Regions from separate parts of the Homo sapiens genome. Here region 2 is linked to region 1. Evidence: promoter capture Hi-C in human tissues and cell types (Jung and others, 2019). All regions are on one chromosome and are shown on one strand. The core of a region is centred on a gene start or on the middle of the fragment in contact, and the rest is flanking DNA. Distances in the headings are between cores, read along the strand shown.

Region 1 (4,532 bases), core at 350-2,849:
CTGATCCCCACCCTGGCTTGGCCCAGGCTCCAGCTCAAAGCCACCTCACTAAGTACACAGACAGCCTGCTTGCTGACATCTGCCTCCTTCTCTTCATAGGTCTCCTGGGCTCCCCAAGCTAAGTGCTTGCCTCATTCCCTAGTTTCTGGGAGGGCTTTGCCTATAGCCAGATGTCCAACCTCTGGCTGGGCAAGGACAGATGGAATAAATCAGCTCTGGCTCTACACATGGCTGAGGACATCCCCACAAGAGCTGGCACCTGTAGCTCCGAGGAGAGATACTCAATACCAATTCCTAGCTCTACTCTCCCTTTACCCCCAGTACACACCATTCACCATGGGAAACACTGCTGAAGGCATTGTCTTCTTTGTAAGAATGCAACAAACATTTCTACTTTAAGAGTCTTGTTGATCAAGCAGACTGAAGTATGTGCAAGGCCAACGGCTGGTTGGTTCCCTTTCTCTCCTCCTTGATCCTCTAAGTTCTCTCCATTTGACAGCGACTCTGCTCCCGCTCCCTAGTGTTCTAACTTCTCTACATCTCTCTAATCATGCACCTGTTTTTTATTTATTTTTTGGGGGGGAGGACTCTGTCATCTGTCTCTTGCTTTCTTTCTTATACCGTCTTTGATCTTCACGTCAGTGCCTTGATTTCGAAACATTAGACGGAAAGTGAAAAATGCAGCGAGTCGTTGTGGTATTTGGGCTGCACATCTCCGACTCAGCTCTCGATCACGTGAATGGCTGACTGCATGTTTTACTTTGTATTTTGGTGTCATGAAGAAGCAGTTTCGGTCCTTGCTCTCTGTCTCTGCTCTTGGTCCTTCCAACTCCCGGCTCTTTCATTCTGTCTCTGGGGTTTACTTTTCTTAGTTGCAGAAACCTTGCCGGAGAACTGTCTGGGTTAGGAGCCTGAACTGGGTTAGAAGCCTGAACTGGCTGGGTTAGGAGGAGAGAGGCAGGGGGCAGTGGGAGTGAGTTGGGGGCTACAGGTGGAGCAAGGGGGATCAGATCGGGGTGATCAGTGAGGGATGAAGGTGAGATGGGAGAAGGACAGACAGAGGTTAGTTGAAGAGTCGACTAAGAGAAGGGAGAGTCAGGAGATCAAAATTATTCCCCAAGGGGACAAGAAGTCCCATCATTTGAACCTAAACAGCAAAAAACCTAGAGCTAAACTTACGGCTCATCTAGAAGTGGGTGGATGATGAGGTTTGCGGGTTGGGGGTTTGGCCTTGCGCATACTTCTCTATCCTTCCCAATCCGTCAGTTCCTGTCAATTTCAGCCTCTTCCACTTCCACAACAGGTGAGCCTGAGATCCAGGTTTGCCAGAGTAAGGGAGCACCCGGGCACCGCTCTGCCAGAGGGCCAGCCAGCCAGGGCTCTCCACTGGATGGAGAACTTTAATGGAGCGGGCGCGGAGAGGGCAGGGCAGGGAAGGGCCGCGTCCCGGAGCCTTACCATGAGCGTCTGAGCCAAGACGGAGGCTGAGGAGCGCCGCCAGCAGCACTACGAGGCACGGCAGCATCCTGGGCGCGCCGCATCGTCCGGGGCCGGAGCGGAGCCGGCCTGCGCGCCTCCAGCTACCCTTGGGCTGGGACTGACAGCTCCGCCGCCCGCTCCGCCAGCGCCCCGCAGGGCTGACGTCAGCGGGGCGAGGCCTACAGACGCCCCGCCCCCGAGGCCGCGGACGGGGAACCACTGTCCCACAGGGCTACCGCCTGGGGCAACCCGAGGCTGTCCTGGGGCGCTAGCGGGCTCCGGCCACCCCTCCCTTTCCTTCCCTCTGGGCCTCCAGTGCCTTCGGATCAAAGTGGTCCGGGTAGCCCGGCCGGCCGTGGGTACGTGTGTGTGGGTGTGTGCGCGCGCGCGTGTGTGCATGTGCTGGGAAGCAGGTGGCCAGGCACAGCCTCGGCCCTGAGTGCGGAAGGTGGGGTGAGGGCGTCCGAGCCGCTTTTGCCTGGCGTGCCGGCTTGGCGTTAAGGATGTGGCCGCGGCCGCTCCGAATGGGGAGGAGGTAGTTGCAGGCCCTTGAGGGCAAAGGCGCCAGGACGCCGGTGTGAGTCTTGGCGTTGCCCCAGGGCCTCCCCGTCTGGGGGTCTGAGGACACCGATGGATGAATACTGAGTAGTCCCCTACCTAATTGTTGGAGGGGGGTCCACAACTAAGCAGTTTATGCAGACCTGCCCCCAAAGTCCCAGGAAGCTGAGAGACCCAAGAAAGAGGCTTTTAACCAGCAGCTCAGCAGCTGAGCCTCAAACCGCGATTTTTAAAATTTTTTTATCTATTTTTTTTTTTTACAGTCTCGCTCTGTCGCCCAAGCTGGAATGCAGTGGCGTGATCTCGGATCACTGCAACCTTCGTCTCCCAGGTTCAAGCGATTCTCCTGCCTCAGCCTTCCGAGTAGCTGGCATTACAGGCATGTGCCACCACGCCTGGGCTAATTTTTGTATTTTTAGTAGAGACGGGGTTTCACCATGTTGGCCAGGCTGGTCTCGAACTCCTGACCTCAGGTGATCCACCCGCCTCAGCCTCCCAAAGTGCTGGGATTACAGGGGTGAGCCACCGCGCCCAGCCTTAAACCGTGTTTTAAACTTAGTTTCTCTTCTTTCCTTTTTTCTCTTCCTCCTCTGGGCCTCAAGATATAATTTTGAGACAAACTGCATGTATGTTACCTCTCATCTTAAAACACAGCCTCAGGACGTGCTGTGACCTCCACTCCCTTTCCTGTCCCATACTGTACTCCCATGCCTTACGCACGTTTATTTACCTACGTGCTTGTTAAGCACACGCTATGCTCTTACCTGGTCATATATTTCCTTAGATGCCTCAGGAGCTGCGTCCTGATAGGGACCAGGCACCTCCGGAATTCTCTCTCCAACAAAAGCTTACTTCAGGAGTTGAACATATACCCTGCTGAAGAGTAACTAATTTATAACCTGGCAGGATCCACGATTGCACCAGCCCCTCCACCAAATAAGACGATAATTAAAGAGGACCACTGGAGCAAGTCACACCACCTGGTACCTCCTAACCTCCCCCTTGCCTTTTCTGCATTTCAGATCCTTTCTTAAAAAACCCCTGCGTTCCCCCCATGAATTGAAGAGTGGAATTGTTTGCTGCTCTTCCCCTGCTAGCATGGCAGCTAGCAGATTTTCCTTTATTATCCATTCTTTCTACAAGCAGAGAGCAGCCAGATCCTTTTGCAGGTTACAGGCTGACACATCCAGTTTCTTCGAAAAAAACATTTAATAAGGACTTATAAACAGAAGCTACGTTTGTGTCTCCATGATTCACCCCCAGGACCAGGGCTTATAGACCACAGGGGAAGGGTGATTCAGAAAAGATGTGTAGGACAGTTGAAGTATGATAACATCAAGGTTGTTTGACCTAAGGGCCGGATTTACAGTAAGTGTTTGCACTTACACAAGGAGCAATTGATAAATTGGGAATCTCAGAGGTCTTCTGGGAGGCTCCAAAGCCAACACGGCCAAAACTGTGGATTAGCATCCAACATGGAGTTGCTTTAGCCTCCATAAGGACTTCTCCCAGTCTCTTCTGGGTTTCCCTTGCTTGCTTGAAATCTGATATTCAGACCAATTTTTGTGTTGGGTAATAGCACTACTGGAGTGCTGGGTAACACCTCAGCACATCCTCAGTCTCTCGCACCTCTGTGTCACTTGGCTCATCTGAGGCCATCTCCAGGTGAACCAAATATGTGAGGATATGAGAGACAGACTGTCCATCACTTTTTCTTGGAGGCTGACACCTGCTTCAAAGTGTGTGTGTGTGTGTGTGTGTGTGTGTGTGTGTGTGTGTGCACTTGCAGTCATATATGATTTGCAGTGGCCAGTCTGTGGATTTGGATTTCATTGTGGTGTGGAGAACGTTGTCTGTTTGCCAAGTGCATATGTGTGTTTGGGACTGTGTGTGCATCCCTCAAGCCCTGCCCTTGTTCTCAGACAAACCAAAGAAGAGGGGCTCAGGACATTTCTGGCCAGCAAGGCCCCACTCCAGGCCTGCTGCCCCACCCACCCGGCCATACCCCGCCCTGCCTGTATTGTAGTTTGTACCTTCATTTGTTCCTGAGCTCTTGTCCTGTGTTCAAGAAGAATGAGAATTCGCTGACAGTTGAAGGGTGAGGATGGGCAGAGAATAATTTTATTGAGTGATGGACCAGCTCTCAGCAGAGAGGGGATGGGGAGGGGGGTGGTTCCCCGCTCCCACAGTTGGGTGTTTTTTTTTCTCAGTGTGGCTGGATCCAGGGCTTTTTCTGGACTCAGAATAGGGAGTGCATGCCGATTGGTTTGTGAGTATGCAAAAAAGGTTAAAGTGAAAATACCACTCAAAGGTGGGTACGACAGTGTAGAAAACCAATTAGGAAAGGGTAGGTGTATGTAAAGTAGGTGAAGGGTGGGGATCAATCAGAGGAAAGCGTGCCAAATGGGAAGACAGGTTCTCAATCTGGTCTGAAGATTTAACTTGCAGCTTGGCTTTCAGGTTTTAAGTTGTCTTCAACTTGGAGGTGGGGTTTC
Region 2 (3,382 bases), core at 1-2,500, 360 kb before region 1:
AAGCCACCTCAGTCCAGGCCTTCATTCAGGAATTTTTTTCACTTTTTTTTTCTTTTTCTTTTTTGAGACAGAGTCTCACTTTGTTGCCCAGGCTGGAGTGCAGTGGCGCTATCTCAGCTCACTGCAACCTCCACCTCCGGGGTTCAAGCGATTCTCCTGCCTCAGCCTCCTGAGTAGCTGAGATTACAGGTGCGTGCCAGCAAGCCCGGCTAATTTTTGTATTTTTAGTAGAGACGGGGTTTCACCTTGTTGGTCAGGCTGGTCTCGAACTCCTGACCTTGTGATCCACCTGCCTCAGCCTCCCAAAGTGTTGGGATTACAGGCGTGAGACACGGCACCTGGTTTCACTATTCTTTTGAGATCATGAAAGAGGCGCCTGGAAGGCAATAGGTGGAACAATTCCGAGGACAGGCCAGCACATTTTCAGGGGCCAGAGCCCGGACTGAATGTCCAGGATCTCAGGCCCCTATCTCCCTCAGCCAGTCAGTCAGTGAGCCAACAAAAATGTGCAGAGCTCCCGTTATGTGCCAGGCACAAGATACAGCAGTGAGCAAGACAGGCATGACTCTGTCCCCAGGTAAGTGACAGTCTAACTGCAGCAGCGTGAAGAGTTTCAGATCCTCGTAGGCCACAGGGGAAAAAGGTCCATTTGTCTCACCGGGAGGCTCAATATTGCCTGTCAGTCAATTATATTATTATTAATAACTACCCCTTAATGAGCACATATGATGCGTGAGGCACCATGCAAATATCTTGTTTGAATCCTAATAATGGTACTAATGGAATAAGACTCTGAAAAATTTTATGGCTGGCCCAGGCCCCACAGGTAGGCAGTATTGGACCCAGGATTCAAATCTCTGGCTGGGGTCTCTAAAGCCCAACCTCCCACTGACAAGAAGCTGCTAGATCTGGTGTCCCTGGCTGCCTAGTGAAGGGTCCTGAGAAAGATCAGCCTCCATGAGAAATCTAGCTGCTACGGCTTGCGCTATGGGGCCGACGGCTTCTCTCAAGGGGCTTCGAGATGTGGCAGTGTTTAGGTTGTGTGTAAATGTGGTTGCATTGTCAATAGGGACGCTAAAGTTCAGGCCACCTTTTCCATATTCTCTGCCAGCTCCCTGCTCAGAGATAGAGCAATTTACACCGCTTCCTTCCTACCCTACCCCTAGCCCACCCCCACTCTGAAAATTTCCCACCATCAACGGCAGAAAGCAGAGAAGCAGACATCTTCTAGTTCCTCCCCCACTCTCCTCTTTCCGGTACCTGTGAGTCAGCTAGGGGAGGGCAGCTCTCACCCAGGCTGATAGTTCGGTGACCTGGCTTTATCTACTGGATGAGTTCCGCTGGGAGATGGAACATAGCACGTTTCTCTCTGGCCTGGTACTGGCTACCCTTCTCTCGCAAGGTAAGGCTACTCCAGGTGGGTGGGGGAAGGGACCTGAGAGGGACATTACTGATGGGAGTGAGGCCCACTTGAAAGTGTTTCTTGCCAGGCACGGTGGCTCACACCAGTAATCCCAGAGCTTTGGGAGGCCGAAGTGGGAGGATCCTTTGAGGCCAGGAGTTTGAGACCAGTCTGAGCAACATGATGAGACTCTATCTTTACAAAAAACAAAAGAATTAGCCAGGCATGGTGGTGCACAACTGTAGTCCCAGCTATTTGAGAGGCTGAGGCAGGAGGGTCACTTGAGCCCGGGATTTCAAGGCTTCAGTGAGCTGTGATCATGCCACTGCCCTCCAACCTAGGCAACCTGTGAGACCTTATCTCAAAAAAAAAAAAAAGTGCTTCTCGGTGCTAGCTTCAGTTCACCAGGCACCCCAGGGGTGTCAGGAGGGCAGGGGCAGGATGTAGCATAGAGTCTGGGAAACAGGCTCTTGGCTTTGACTGACTCCAGCCATGGGTGCATGTGGGCCTAGAATGTCTCTCAGAAGGCCTTAGGCCAGAGATCTGCAGAAAATAGCTCAGTACGTATGTACCTGAATCTGGGACTGGCCATGGGAGCACAGCTTCCTGCACTACTCCTTTTAGGCCTGATGGCCTCTGGAATCAGGACTCTTGTTTGTTTGGCCATGATTATGTCATCCCTGGAGGCATGTCCTAGCACTTATGTGAATGCTTTAAGAGAAGTTAACTTTAGGTTGAGCAGGACGGAGGGAAGATTTGAGGGGTTGTTACATGGTAGGATTTTAACTCATCTCAGTTTGCCAATTTCAGTTTTAAAATGGAAAGTCCCATGTCCGAGGAACCCCTTCAACACTAAGCAAACTGGGTCCAATGGTCACCTAATAGTTGGCTGCACTAGGGCACTCAGGATTTCCACTGGAGACAGATCCCTGAAGAGGACGCGACTGTAGGACGTGAAGCATTTGATGTGCATGTGTCTCCCTGAGGATACATGCATATACTTCCAACCTGCTTCAGAAGTGTGAGCAACAGCTGTTTCAGGGTTTTCTAGAAGATGCTCTTGTATCCAAATTTGGGACTTAGTGTGAAGCCCAGGATGAATGAATGTAGCCTCCACTTTTCCCTGTGTTTGGAGGCATAGACTGTAGTGCCTCTGTGGCCTGTGGAGATGTGCTCAGGCTGTCAGAGGAACTCACTGCATCTGGAATGTTGCTGCACTCACCTCCAGCCCTAAAAGTCTCCCACAAGACTTGACTTGTGAGGAGCTCTAGGGATGGATTCAATAAAATTTTTTTCCTGTTCTCCTCCTTCTAACCAAGGGTGGAAAACTGTACATGGGATTTGCCCTGGTCCCGTTCTGGACCACTTGGCTGATAATTCAGGGGCTGGTAAACCAGCTGGTCTCCACCCACAGCCATCCCTGGCCCTGGGAAAGGCTTCAGTGTTGAGAGCCCCGCTTTCTTGGTTGTCAATGGAGCAGGGGCAATGAGGAAGGATGAGGATAAGAAGCTGAAGTGGGAGTGTTGTAGATGGCTGGGAAGTGGAATTAGATGTTTCCTTGAAGAAAAAATGCAGACATTTCCAATCGAGGAATGTTCTTCTGTCTTTCCACATCTTCCAGGTGCTTCAGTGGTCCGTGCTCCCCCTACTCCTCATCAGTGGTCTGGATTCATTTCCAGGAAGGTGCTTGGGTCAATCCTGCTCTGAGGGGTCCTCTTTTGCACCAAGGCCCCAAGACCTGTCCTCTGCTTGAATGGCATCCTCATGTCCCCCTTGACCCCTGCAGTTGGTGGGGAACTTTCTGAAGGCTTTTTCTTGTGACTTCTGTCTCTCTTGATGGAAGCCATAAACTGTCCTGGACCAGGAAAATGGTCTCTGTTAAGTATGAGCTTCCGCAGAACAAAGGGCTTGGTGCAGATCAAAGAGCTGTCTCCAACTGTGATATTTTTTCCCCTTTAGTGAGCCCCTTCAAGATACCTA

Evidence for each region. Contacts are between HindIII fragments. The study calls those that stand out against the background at their distance.
Region 2: a contact is called between the fragment with the promoter of CD3D here and the fragment with the promoter of IL10RA in region 1, in 1 of the 25 tissues and cell types used here (mesendoderm cells).

Annotation. Positions count from the first base shown.
Region 1 is chr11:117,983,461-117,987,992 of GRCh38, reverse strand. IL10RA (interleukin 10 receptor subunit alpha) reads right to left here and starts at 1,599. Exons shown (of 7, transcript NM_001558.4): 1 at 1,459-1,599. The coding sequence starts at 1,525. RefSeq lists enhancers at 422-721, 2,112-2,171 and silencers at 1,522-1,801, 1,822-1,921. The HindIII fragment of the contact is 15,047 bases long and covers 1-4,532 here.
Region 2 is chr11:118,340,573-118,343,954 of GRCh38, reverse strand. CD3D (CD3 delta subunit of T-cell receptor complex) reads left to right here and starts at 1,250. Exons shown (of 5, transcript NM_000732.6): 1 at 1,250-1,402; 2 at 3,362-3,382. The coding sequence starts at 1,348. The HindIII fragment of the contact is 13,514 bases long and covers 1-3,382 here.